Regions from separate parts of the Homo sapiens genome. Here region 1 is linked to region 2. The links are contacts of gene promoters, found by promoter capture Hi-C in human tissues and cell types (Jung and others, 2019). All regions are on one chromosome and are shown on one strand. The core of a region is centred on a gene start or on the middle of the fragment in contact, and the rest is flanking DNA. Distances in the headings are between cores, read along the strand shown. Region 1 overlaps DGLUCY (D-glutamate cyclase). Region 2 holds the start of TTC7B (tetratricopeptide repeat domain 7B).

Region 1 (6,544 bases), core at 4,045-6,544, 300 kb before region 2:
ACATTAGTTGAGTTTGTTCTTGAAATTATTATTATTATTATTATTATTATTATTATTATTATTATTATTTTTGAGATGGAGTCTCACTCTGTCACCCAGGCTGGAGTGCAGTGGCGCGATCGCCACCACATCTGGCTAATTTTTGTATTTTTAGTAGAGATAGGGTTTCACCATGTTGGCCAGGCTGGTCTCGAACTCCTGATTTCAGGTGATCCACCCACCTCGGCCTCCCAACGTGCTGAGATTACAGGCGTGAGCCACTGCGCCCAGCCAAAAATATTATTTCTTGAAGAAAGAGTTACAGACATCCCCACAGGAGAGGAGGGTCTTCTCAGAAGCTTAGGTACAGAGCAGGTAGCATGATTGGAGGTGGAGTAGGACATGGAAAGAGCCATACAGTTCACTCTTTTGCCATTTACAGAGCACTTTCTGTGTGTCGGGAAATGTGCTTAAGCACTGGAGCTGCTAATGAGGAAGAGGCAAGGAAAACTGTGTTGACAGTGTCAGGCAGGTATGGCCTGGGAGACATTGCATGAGCTTTGACAGACAGCTGGAAATCAGCACTAGGAGAAAGGCTGAAGAAGTCTCTGTAGGTGACAGTGTGAGTGGTTGGCACACCTGGGGTAAAGAGGGAGAGGGGCTGGGAAGATAGACAAAGAGATGCTTGGGAGGGAGCATGTGCATAACCTGAAGGAGTATGAGCTTCATCTAAGAGCCCCAGGAGCACTAAGGGTAGGAGGATCCCCTGAACAGGCAGCACTTGGTGGAGGATGAATGTGAAGAAGAACATCCCTCAGAGACCCTCTGTCGTAAGTATTTGAGAAGCAATCCAGGCTTTCCCCAAAGTGAGAGAATGAGAGGAAGGGCTGATTTGAGGAACTGGAAGAGGTAGACTTGCCAGAACCTGATACCTGATTGAATGTATGCAAAAGGTGCAACGAAAGAAAGGAATCACAAATAATTATCAGGGCCAGGTGGGGTGGCTCATGCCTGTAATCCCAGCACTTTGGGAGGCTGAGGCAGGTGGCTCACCTGAGGACAGAGTTCAAGACCAGCCTGGCCAACATGGTGAAATGCTGTCTCTACTAAAAATACAAAAATTAGCCAGGCGCGGTGGTGGGTGCCTGTAATCCCTGCTACTCAGGAGGCTGAGGCAGGAGAATGGCTTGGACCCAGGAGGTAGAGGCTGCAGGTTGCAGTGAGCTGAGATAGCGTGATTGCACTGCAGCCTGGGTGACAAGAGTGAAACTCCATCTCAAAAAACAATAATAATAATAATTATCAGATTTCTTTTTCCTGGGATGGGCAACTAGCTAACTGTGCCATTCATGAAAATAAATACAAGAAGAGACTGATGAGGAATTTGGTTTTAGAATGCTAAGTAGGAGGAGCCTGTGAGACAGCCCCAGGCAGAGGTCCATGACAGGGTGGACATTCAGCACCAGAAGTCAGGAAGGACACCTGCCCGGAGGAGGGAGAGCTGCGAGTCATCAGCTTTTGCGTGGCTGAGGACACTAAGTGTATTAGTCAGGGTTCTCTAGATGGGACAGGACTAACATGACGAGGAGTTTATTAAGGAGTATTGACTCACACCATCACAAGGTTAAGTCCCACAATAGGCTGTCTGCAAGCCGAGGAGCAGGGAAGCCAATCCAAGTCCCAAAACCTCAAAAGTAGGGAAGCCAACAATGCAGCCTTCAGTCTCAGGCCAAAGCCCTGAGAGCCCCTGGCAAACCACTGGTGTAAGTCCAAGAGTCCAAAGCTGAAGAACTTGGAGTCAGATGTTTGAGGGCAGGAAGCATCCAGCACGGGAGAAAGATGAAGACTGAAAGACTCAGCCAGTCTAGTCCTTCCATGTTCCTCTGCCTGCTTTTGTCCTAGATGAGCTGGCAGCTGATTATATGGTGCCCACCCAGACTGAGGGCGGGTCTGCCTCTCCCAGTTCACTGACTCAAATGTTAATCTCCTTTTGGCAACACCCTCACAGGAACAAGACTTTACATCCTTCAATCCAATCCAGTTGACACTCAACATTAAGCCATCACACCGAGGGAGAGGGCAAAAGGCAGGAAGGGCTGTGGGTGGAACACAGAGACCCAGAGGATATTTAGGGAGTGAGTGGAACAGGAGGTCTCTTTGAAGGAAATGGAAAAAAAATGTCTAGCAAAGTAGGGTGGGAACTTAGAAAGAGTAGCACTGCAGTGAGAAAGAGTCTTCAGGTATGGGAGCACAGTGGTACCAAAGGTCCAGAAAGACAAGGTCAGATCAAGGTAGAAAAGCCTGGGAAATTTGGTCAGGGAAACAGAGTGGGTCAGGGAATATGAGTGAAAGGATATGTACAACTCTGAGGTATATCATTTAGAAGGGAGCTGTTTGCCCTCTAATTCCTCCCCTCTTCGCACTACAGGCAGGAACAGAAGGTGAAGGTGATGTTGAGTCACTTTTGACTATGCAGAAAAGGGAGCAACAAGATGGAGGAAGCTGGGTTCCTGAATGACCCTGTGGAGCAGAGTTGTTTGCCTGTCCTGGACTGACCATTTACCTCTTAGCTATTATGTGAAAGAGGAAAAATCTTCTACCCTTTTTGAGCAAATGTATTTTGGGATCTTTTTTACAATTTAGCCTGTACCCTAACTAATACAGAGTATCTCCCAAAGGCACAGATAATAATAATTTTAGTAGTAGTAGTATAATTTAAAAAAATTTTTTTTAACTTTTTAGGTAGACTTTTTAGGGTCTCACTATGTTGCCCAGGCTGGTTTCGAACTCCCAAGTTCAAGCAATCCTCCTTCCTTGGCCTCACAAAGTGCTGGGATTACAGGCATGAGCCACCGTGCCTGGCCCCACTGATAGGAATATTTCTTGAAAGTATAAACCAAAAGTAAAATTCTAAGCCCTTCAACCAATTGAATGGACCCCCTTTCAGCCAAGGGCATTCCAAAGAAACCTGAAATACTAGTCCAGGCCATGATGGGAGGTGAATGGCTGAACATGCCTCATTATCCCCCACCACTTGGGAGTTTAGATACAACTGACCAGCATTAACATTAAAACAGAGATCTTAAGACAGATAAAAGAGACTCTTTGTAGCCATAAGATACCAAATTCCAACCTGACTCTATCAAATGACAGATAAAGAAGGAAATCAAAATATCTTACCCCCAAATATGTTTCTTCACCATATTTTGAAACTGCTTTTTGTATCTGTAAATCTATTAACTAGCTCTTTCCCCTTCCAAGTCCTCCCACCTTGAAGAGAGTTATGAAGAGTCTGGCACCTTTTAAGGCCTGATAAGAGAGATTCACCTGTAACCCCAGCACTTCAGGAGGCCGAGGCAGGTGGATCACTTGGAGGTCAGGAGTTCAAGACCAATGTGGCCAACATGGTGAAACCCTGGCTCTACTAAAAATCTAAAAATACAAAAATTAGCCAGGCGTGGTGGGGGTGGTGGTGCCTGTAATCCCAGCTACTTGGGAGGCTGAAGGAGGTGAATCGCTTGAACCCAGGAGGTGGAGGGTGCAGTGAGCCAAGATCATCCCACTGTACTCTAGCCTGGACAACAGAGTGAGACTCCGTCTAAAAAAAAAAAGGGGGGGGGGGGGCGGGGAGAATTTACCATCCATTCTCTCTGAAGTCTGCTACCTGGAAGCTTCATCTACATAACAAGAACCTTGGCCCTTGGCTTCCACAACCCCTTTTATCTTGAATCCAAGCATTTCTTCCTGCTAACTTCAACTTTAGGCAAAGCTTAACTCATTTAACTAATTACCAATTGGGAAATCTTTGAATCTACCTATGACCTGAATACCTCAATTCTGGACTGAATCAATCAAACCAATGTGTACTTCACATGTATTGATTGATGTCTATGTCTTCCTAAACTGCATAAAACCAAGCTGTATCCCAACCATGTCAGGCACATGTTCTCAGGACCTCCAGGGTCCTCATGTTTGCCTCAGAATAAGTCTCTTCAAATATTTTACAGTTTGGCGTGTGTGTGTGTGTGTGTGTGTGTATGTGTGTGTGTGTGTATGTGAACAAAAGCTTACTCTGTGCCAGGCATTGTTCTAAACACTTTTCATGTACTATGTCATTTAATCCATACAACACTCCCTAGATGAGGGCTGTTATCCCTATTTTACAGAAAAGGAAGCACAGGATGATTCAGTACTTTGCCTAAAGACTCATAGGTATTGAGTGGCCAAACCAGCAGTCAAGCCCAAGTGTCAGAGGCTTTCAAACCAGAGCCACTCCATCTCGAACAGGGGCTGGGTAAAATAAGGCTGAGACTTACTGGGCTGCATTCCCAGGAACTTAGGCATTCCTAGTCACAGGATGAGATAGGAGGTAGGCACAAGATACAGGTCACAAAGACCCTGCTGATAAAACACTTTGTGGTAAAGAAACCAGCCAAAACCAAGATAGCAATGAAAGTGACCTCTGGTCGTCCTCACTGCTTATTATACACTAACCATAATGCATTAGCATGCAAAAGACACTCCCACCAGCACCATGACAGTTTACAAATGCCATGACAATGTCTGGAAATTACCTTATTTTGTGTAAAGAGGAGAGAAACCCTCAGTTCCAGGAATTGCCCACCCGTTTCCTGGAACACTCATGAATAATCCATCCCTTGTTTAGCACATAATCAATAAATAACCGTTAAGTATACTCAGTCGAGCAGCCCATGCCACTGCTCTACCTATGGAGTAGCCGTTCTTTTTTTTTTTTTGAGACAGACTCTCACTCTGTCGCCAGGCTGGAGTGCAGTGGGGCGATTTCGGCTCACTGCAACCTCTGCCTCCTGGGTTCAAGCAATTCTCCTGCCTCAGCCTCCCAAATAGCTGGGATTACAGGTGCATACCACCACACCCAGCTAATTTTTGTATTTTTAATAGAGATGGGGTTTCACTATGTTGGCCAGGATGGTCTTGATCTCCTAACCTTGTGATCTGTCTGCCTTGGCCTCCCAAAGTGCTGGGATTTCAGGCATGAGCCACCACGCCCGGCCTATTCCTTTACTTTCTTAATAAACTTGCTTTCACTTCCACTTTGCTATGAACTTGCCCCCAGTTGCTTCTTGCACAAGGTCCAAGAACACTCTCGGGGTCTGGTTTGAGGCCCCTTTCTGGTAACACAAGTATTCTGGATTGAGATCATACTTTCAGTCACTATGCTTTTCAAAGCATAACTTTTTACAATTTCACACAGTCAAAAAGACACAGCTTGGTCTTCCAGAGAGCTGTGCCTGAATGTGAACCTCAACATTACTGAAGGACCAAGGGCAGTCATTTAGTTTCTCTACAATTCTGTTTCCTCCAAGACAGCATGAGGAGATCCAAATTACAGACTTCATGGAGCTTCTGGAAGGATAAAACAAATTCAAGTCTGTTTAAGAAATGCTTTGAAAGCTGTAAAGTGTGGCATAAATGAAATATTGCCTTAAGGCAGGTTGGAAAATCCTTAAACCCAAAATAAGAAAATAAACTTTTTTTTTTAATGCAAATACCCTCTAGCAACTTGGCAGATCGCCTGGAAAGGCTGAGAAATCTGTCAAGGAGAGGGTTGGTTTTGTGTATCTGCCATGCTCCACTGAAAAAGGGAGATATTAATTGAAATTAATTGAAAGAGCATATACCTGTGCACTTGGACGAGAATCATTATTATCAAACCAGAAGGAGCAGCAATCTGCATTGCCCACAGGAACCAGGCAGGTACAGAAGTTTTGGGGTGGGTCAAGGAATGCAAAGCTCAGTGCAGGAGAGGTGGGGACTTTGGCAAACCAGCAGCTACAGCGCCAGCCGAGCTGCGGAAACGTGAGCCCATTCTTTCACAACGCGTGAAATTTTCCAAATTTCCAAGAGTCCTCACTCTTACAAATAAAACATGTCAGGGGCCACCAGTTGGCCTCCGGGGATCTAGCCCTCAGCTGGAAGTGACATCTGACTCTTTTAAGATGCTTCCTGGCTAGGTGTGGTGGCTCACGCCTATAATCCCAGCACTTTGGGAGGCCAGGCCGGATGGATGGCTTGAGCTCAGCCTGGCTAACATGGCAAAACCCTGTCTCTGCTAAAACTACAAAAATTAGCCAGACCTGGTGGCATGTGCCTGTAGTCCCTGCTACTTGGGAGGCTGAGGCAGGAGAATAGCCTGAACCCAGGAGATGGAGGTTGCAGTGAGCTGAGATCACACCACTGCACTCCAGCCTGGGCGACACAGCAAGACTCCGTCTCAAAATGAAGGGGGGAAAAAAAGGTGCTTCCTCATAATTATGTACAAGCCACAGTTTAGCCTTCTTTCAGTTAACTCCACCCTGCCCTGCCCTTCCCACCCATCACCTCCTTCCCCTTCCTGCTTCCTCAGCTTCACTCCACCCCTCCAGCCAAGTCAGCTTTCTTTCTTCTTCCTACTCTCGGCCTCTCCTTTCCTTCTTTTTAGCTCATACTCAGTTACCTTTAAAGCACAAAGCAGCTCTCGTCCCCTGCGTGCCAATCAATGCCAACATTCTTCCTGCCAACATAATCTCAACCTGCTGCCCTC
Region 2 (6,431 bases), core at 1,010-3,509:
AACTCTAACGTTCTAGTTCCCCTTTCCCTGGGCTGTTCACAGTGTCCAGGGCCTGTCAGCTCAACTTCCATCACCTTGGCAGTCCCTGAGGCACCTGAAAGTGATACTGGTCACATCAGAACACATCTCCTTATCTTTCCTCCTCACCTCTCTTAAATGTCTGTGATTCAGCCTCCTCATTGGTAAACTGAGGTCCACAGTGTGTGTTCTTCATCAACTCCGGTGGTGGGGGAGTTGTGGTGGGGATAAGAACCTGCGTGTGACTGCTCTTGGAAAGTTGGAGTAAGGGCACCCAGAAGGAATGACGACGACCCCTCAGTGCCTCCTTGTGACTGCGGGCGGGCTACGGAACCTTCCAGACTGACCGCTTCACTCTCAAATGCAGGACCCAGAATCCAACACTGCCACCACCACAGCTATTTCCCTGGCAGTATTCTCAACACTGCAGTCACAGTGATAGTCCAAAGTGTAGGTCTGATCATGCCACTCTTCCGTGAAAAGCCCTGCAGGGCTGCTCCATGTCACCAGAGTAAAAGTCAAAGTTTTTTTTTTTTTTTTTGAGACGGAGTCTCTCTCTGTTGCCCAGGCTGGAGTGCAGTGCTGCCATCTCAGCTCACTGCAAACTCCGCCTCCCGGGTTCACACCATTCTCCTGCCTCAGCCTCCCCAGCAGCTGGGACTACAGGCGCCTGCCACCACGCCCGGCTAATTTTTAAAAATATTTTTAGTAGAGACGGGTTTCACCATGTTAGCTAGGACGGTCTCGATCTTCTGACCTCGTGATCCGCCCACCTCGGCCTCCCAAAGTGCTGGGATTACAGGCGTGAGCCACCGTGCCCAGCCAAAAGCCAAGGTCTTATAATGGCCCACCAGGCACTACACAGAACTCCCCCCAACCTCTCAGAGTTCATCTCCTGCCTCGGCCCCTCTCCTTCGCTCCACCCAGCCCCTCTGGCCTCTGCCATTTCTCCATCCCACCCAGTGTGCTCTAACCCCAGAGCCTTCGCACTTGTGGTGTTCTCTGCCTGGGATACTCCTCCCCCAGAGATATCCTCATGGCTCCCCCTTAGTTTCTTCAAGTCTAATGCCACCTCCGTGAGGCCATCCCTGACTGCTCCATTTTAAATGGCAACACTTGCTCAGGCTGAAGTGCGTTCACTGCTCACTGCAGCCTCCACCTTCTGGGCTCAAGCAATCATCCTGCCTCAGCCTCCTGAGTAGCTGGGATTACAGGCATGAGCCACCCGCCTGTCCCAACTCTTTATGTTCCTCACTGAACCCTTCCCTGTTTCTTCAAATAGCCATTTTTACAGTCTAGTTTACTATTTTATTTTGCTTATTTTTCCCCCAAACTGGAATGTAAGCTCTCTCAAGCCAGGAATTTTGTTTTTTTAGCTCACAATTCTATCTCTGGCACCTAAAGCAGCGCCCAGCACATAGTAGGTGATCACTAGACAGTTGATTCACTGAGAGAACACAGAGGGACACCTCCCTAGGTCTCAGTCTAGGTGGCCAAGACAGGAGGCCCCACCAGTGACTGTGCCTTCCCCTCAGGGGGTCCGAGAGCTGGCGTGTGAGAGTGGCAGCCCCTGCCTGGCTCCGCTCAGCCATCTAGGGCACCCCTGGCAGGTGCTGTGCCTTGCCTGGGATGGAGGAGTCTCCGTCCACCTCTGGCTGGGTAGGGGCTAAGGCTGCGGGGCAGAGGGGCATCTGCTAAGGGGCACAGGCCAACCGGGCCCCAGGGAACCGCTGGCCACCTGAGATGGCAGGACAAACTCGGGCAGGCCTCCCCCCACCCCTCACACCTGGCTCACTGGTCCCACCGGGCGGTGACCTTCCCCAGGGTCACTGCCCTTTCTTGGCCCTACTCCTGGGGATCCAACCCGCTCCCAGGCTGTCGCTAGCTCCCTCCCGATCCTCTCCCTCCCCTTCATCCTGCCCAGACCCCTACCCCACCAGACCCCTCACCCGCCCTTGGTCAGATCTCTCTCCTACCCCGCTCCCCCACCCCCATCCCCACTTCCCCTCGGTCTTCACCCCGCCCCAGACACCCCCAGTCCCTCTCCCTGTCCTCCATGCCCACCCCGCCTTTCCTCCCTCGGGCCCCTGTCTCCCGCCCTAGCCCCCGCCCCTGCCCCAGCCCTGGCTCCGGCCCCGGTCAGTGCTGCGGCTCCGGCCCTGGCCGGCAGGGGCCGCTCCTCGCGGCGCCCGGGGCCCCGCCGCGCCCGCCGCCGCCGCCCGCCTCCCCGCCCCTTCCCCAGCCGGCGCTCCCGTTACGCCGCGGAGCCGGGAGCCGGAGCCCGAGCCCGCGGCGGCGGCGGGAGGCGGCGAGGGGGCGCCGCGGCGGCGGCGGTGGGGCCTGCGGGGCGGGCGGCCGGGCCCGGCCAGGCCGCGATGGCGACCAAGAAGGCAGGCTCGCGGCTGGAGACGGAGATCGAGCGCTGCCGCTCCGAGTGCCAGTGGGAGCGGATCCCTGAGCTCGTCAAGCAGCTGTCGGCCAAGCTCATCGCCAACGGTACGCTCCGGGCGCGCCGGCCTGGGCTGCGGGGGGCGCCGCGGCCTCCGCGGGAACGGGCCCCCGAGGCGCGGCCGGGCGCGGGGCGCGGGCAGGGGCGCGGCCGGGCCGCGAGGGAGCTGCGGCCCAGGGGATGTGCGCGGGACCGGGGCCTGGGGGAGCCCGGGTGCCCCGGAGTCACGCGGTGTGGGGGCCCGGGGGGGCGCCAGGGGCTGTCCCGGCGCCTGGGGTTCAAGCGTGCAGGGCGGGCTTCTGCGGAGTCTGGGGTGTCCGGGGGTCTCAGCGAGTCCGCTGCTCCACTGGGACCACAGGAGGTCAGGGGCCGGCCTGGGGCTTCCAAGAAGTTGGAGGTGATGGGGTGAGGGGGTCCCTCAGGACATGGGTGAAGTCCACAGTGTGTGTATGGTGTGCTCAGGGAATCAGGATGTGTTTATGGGGTCTTGAGAATGGGGTGTTGTACATAGACCCCTGGGGAATCTGGTTTGTAAACATATGGTGTTTAAGGGGTTCTGGGTGGAAGCGCAGACTCGAGGTGTGTGGGGTGGTGGTAGAAAGCAGGCTGGGATGTGCGTCCTGGCGTTCGGAGAAGTAGCATCAAGGCTGCCGACCTAGAGAGGTCAGGGTTGGGAATAGAGGAGAAATAGAGTCAGGGGGACCTGGAGGGAGAATATTGTGGAGCGAGATGGGAATGTGGTTGAAGAATGTCGGGAGATGGAGTTGGGTGGGTGAGGGGTTGGTGCCTGGGCCAGAAGGGGGTCTGAGGCAGCCTCTGAGTAGGAGCCTGGTGCCTGGAGTTGGTTCATGACCCCTTTAACTGGATTGGTTCTTGTACCCAATCAAATAAAATTGCATCCAGAATCCCATTCCAGTGCACAGCTCCACGTGGCCTTATTTGTTTTGGAAGCGAGTATCTTTAATATTTGCTTGTCTTTTAGTACCCGCCTAAAGCGCAGGCACCAGCACACCGTGGCCAGAGGGCAGAGGGTTTGTCTCATTTCATCCTGGGCTTCCCCAGGCCCAGTGAGCACATGTTGGCTGAACAAATGAATGAAAGAGTGAATGAATGGATGGCGGGGCTGCTCTAAGAAAGGACATCTGCACTATTTTCAACCTTCTCACTTCAGACTACCCAGAAAGGAGAGGGATGTCAGGTGTCCTCCTGGAGGGTGGTTTATGTTTGTGTCCTATGGTATTAGTGCCTGGAAATTAGAACTTGGTTTTGCGCACTCTCAATGATGGATGCATGCTGTGGGCAGGTACCTTCTGGGTGAACGCAGGTGCCATGGTGTGTCAGGGGCATGGAGATAGCACCGACCCTACACGGGCTCCACTTGGTGGAAAATGTGGACCCTTCTCAGTTATGTCAGCCTTTGAGGAGATGGTGTTCAGTGCCCTGGGCCCCAGAGGCAGCTTGCCTTTGCCCTCCGTGTCGGGCTCACCTGCTTCTCCGCTTACCTGCAGCATTTTCTCTTTTCCTCTCGGAGTTGCACAGTCCTGGGTCTACTTTGTGGCTTCCCAGCGGTGTAGGCATAATGACACCTTCTGTGCAGGTTGATTTTAGGATTAAATGGGTTTATTTGTGAGCCTCCTGGTCTTTTTTCTTCTGAATCCACTTGTTTCCTGCTGTCTTTGCTTATTCATTCACCCAATATTTGCGTGCCCACCTGTGCCAGTCACAGAACAGTGGTGAACAGCACTGACCAAGCCCCTGCCCTTATGCCCTCACCCTGCTCTCAGGAGGCAGGTGATAAGCAAATATGGAAATAAATAAACAGCACAGCTTCAGATAGTGAGAAGTGATTGAAACAAAACAGATGAGTTAATGTGATTGAGAATGACAGGCAGATGAAGGGGGACTCAAGCTATGATGGTCCCTGGAATGAGAGGGTAGATGGGTTTTTGGTGGCCTGGGCCCTTCCTATTCACCTTCATGGCCCCCGAAAGGCTTAGCTCTCTTCCCAGGGGCTGCTCCCAATGTCCTAAGATGCAGTCATGAGTGGGGCTTGGGGATCGGGGTTTGCGGGGGCACTGTGGTCCATGGGTCTGTGTGCAAGTTCAGTTTGGGGAAACTCATGGGACATAGATTTTTGTCCTAGAGACTCACATGGTGAGTGGTAGCCATTGATGGCAAAAAGTTACCCGGACTTGAAAAGATCAGACAGAGTGAGTGCTCAGGAAAATAAAACGATGAAGCCAAGAAAAAGATGAAACTAAACTAGAATGATTGTGGCTCTCCTTTGGTGTTTGCAAGAGGGGCCTTCCCTCCGTTTGACTGGTGAGGCCTTCCCACTCTCGGGCTGGTAGAGGGACTTCTTCCTGGCTTTTGGGGGCACCGGCTCCCCCATAGATTCTCGGGTGCATGAGCACAAGTTCTGGGCAGATTTTGCAAAATCCTGAAGTTAAAGCATCTTCTGCTTAGAATAAGGAAAGCAAGTGAATGTCACGTTTGTCACACTAAGACAGTTACCATGAAAACAACCACAGGCGAAAAAAAAAAAAAAAGAATACAGTGTTTGGAGCCAGCCAGATGGGGGACTGATTCTTGTGACCTTGGCCACTTCTTGACTTTGTGACATTGGCCAAATCACTTAACCACTCTGAGCCTCAGTTTTCTCATTTTAGAACGGGATTTAAATGACTTACCTTGCAGGGGTTGTTATGAGGGTTAAAGTAGCTAATGTCTCTCAGGGCCAGCCACTCATTCCTTCCTTCCTTCCACAAAGATTGAGTACCTGCTCTGTGCTAGCCACTGTTTTAGGCACTGGAAATACACTGGTAAACAAAACAGACAAAAATGGCAAAAATCTCAGCCCTTATGAAACTCACATCCCAGTAGGAAAGGGGCAGGGAGACAGATAATCAATATAATCATTAGGTAAAGTTTACAGGGTGTCAGATGGTGGTCAGTGCTATCAAAGAGAAAAAGGGGAAGGTGAATAGGTGCTTTGGAGTGGGCTGGGAGTGGGGGTTGCAGGAACTACTAGTTTAAATAGGGTGGCCCTGAAAGGTGTCCCCAAGAAGGCAACATCTGAGATGAGACCTAAGGAGGTGGAGAAGCATGTTCTAGGGAGGGAACTTCATGGGTAGAAAGTGGCGGGGCCTGATAGGCCGAGGGTAAGGCTTTGGCTTTCCTGTGAGTGAGACAGGGCTATGGGAGAGTTCTGAGCAGAGGAATCCCTCCTTCCCAAAGCTCCCACTTGTAGTGGGCTTCCCCACCCAGCAGCATTAGCTCCTTACGGGAAGGAAGCGTGGCAGCCCCTCCCCGTTAAGGACTCTAAATAGTGGACACTTTCAGAGTGTACTGCCCCAGCCTGGCTCCTTTGAGATGAATTGGTTTAGATGTTTTGCCAAGAGGTGGATAAGGAAGAAAAGGACAAATGCCAAGTTGAAAAGTGAACCCAGAGGTCTGTCTTCTTCCTCGTACCCTACCGTAGTCACCATTTTCATTGCACCATCTCAAAAAACCCAAATGTGGTGGAACCTAGCTGTGCACCAGACCCGGGTGAGTCCCACTGAGAGAATGGTCACCTAAGTTAAGGGTGGGGGTGGGAGACAGTCCCCCGGAAGCCTAGGCCCTCGTGGGCTGAAGTGTGGCCTGGGGATGAGTGGCAGGGGCACCACCGGGAACCTGTGAGAAATGCGGATTCTTGGGCCGGCTTCAGACGTGCAGGGTTAGAATCCACATCTCAGCAAGGTGTCCAGGGGTTTGGGGGACTCAGAGAAGCCTGAGGTGCCCTGGCTTGGAGCTGAGGCAGCAGCCTGAGCGCTCAGGGATAAAGACAGAGCTGCACATCAGCTTCATGTGGGCTCACAGGTCGGTCCTGGTCTCTGGGAGGACAGGCCCAGCTGTCCTCTCTCTACAGAATGTCACCCTCCAGCCTCCCAATGATGAGGTCACCACTGTGTGTGAAAGTGCA

What was found. The method cuts DNA at HindIII sites, captures the fragments that hold promoters and counts their contacts. A contact is called where the count stands out against the background at its distance.
Region 1: a fragment that was not itself captured here is called in contact with the fragment with the promoter of TTC7B in region 2 in 1 of the 25 tissues and cell types used here (liver).

Annotation. Positions count from the first base shown.
Region 1 is chr14:91,115,135-91,121,678 of GRCh38, reverse strand. The region is part of intron 1 of DGLUCY (D-glutamate cyclase); the gene reads right to left. Among named protein-coding and RNA genes, the nearest start is that of DGLUCY, 4.3 kb to the right of the region's middle. RefSeq lists enhancers at 1,135-2,334, 4,805-5,306. The HindIII fragment of the contact is 3,189 bases long and covers 3,700-6,544 here.
Region 2 is chr14:90,812,258-90,818,688 of GRCh38, reverse strand. TTC7B (tetratricopeptide repeat domain 7B) reads left to right here and starts at 2,259. Exons shown (of 20, transcript NM_001010854.2): 1 at 2,259-2,514. The coding sequence starts at 2,394. RefSeq lists a silencer at 2,086-2,265. The HindIII fragment of the contact is 18,929 bases long and covers 1-6,431 here.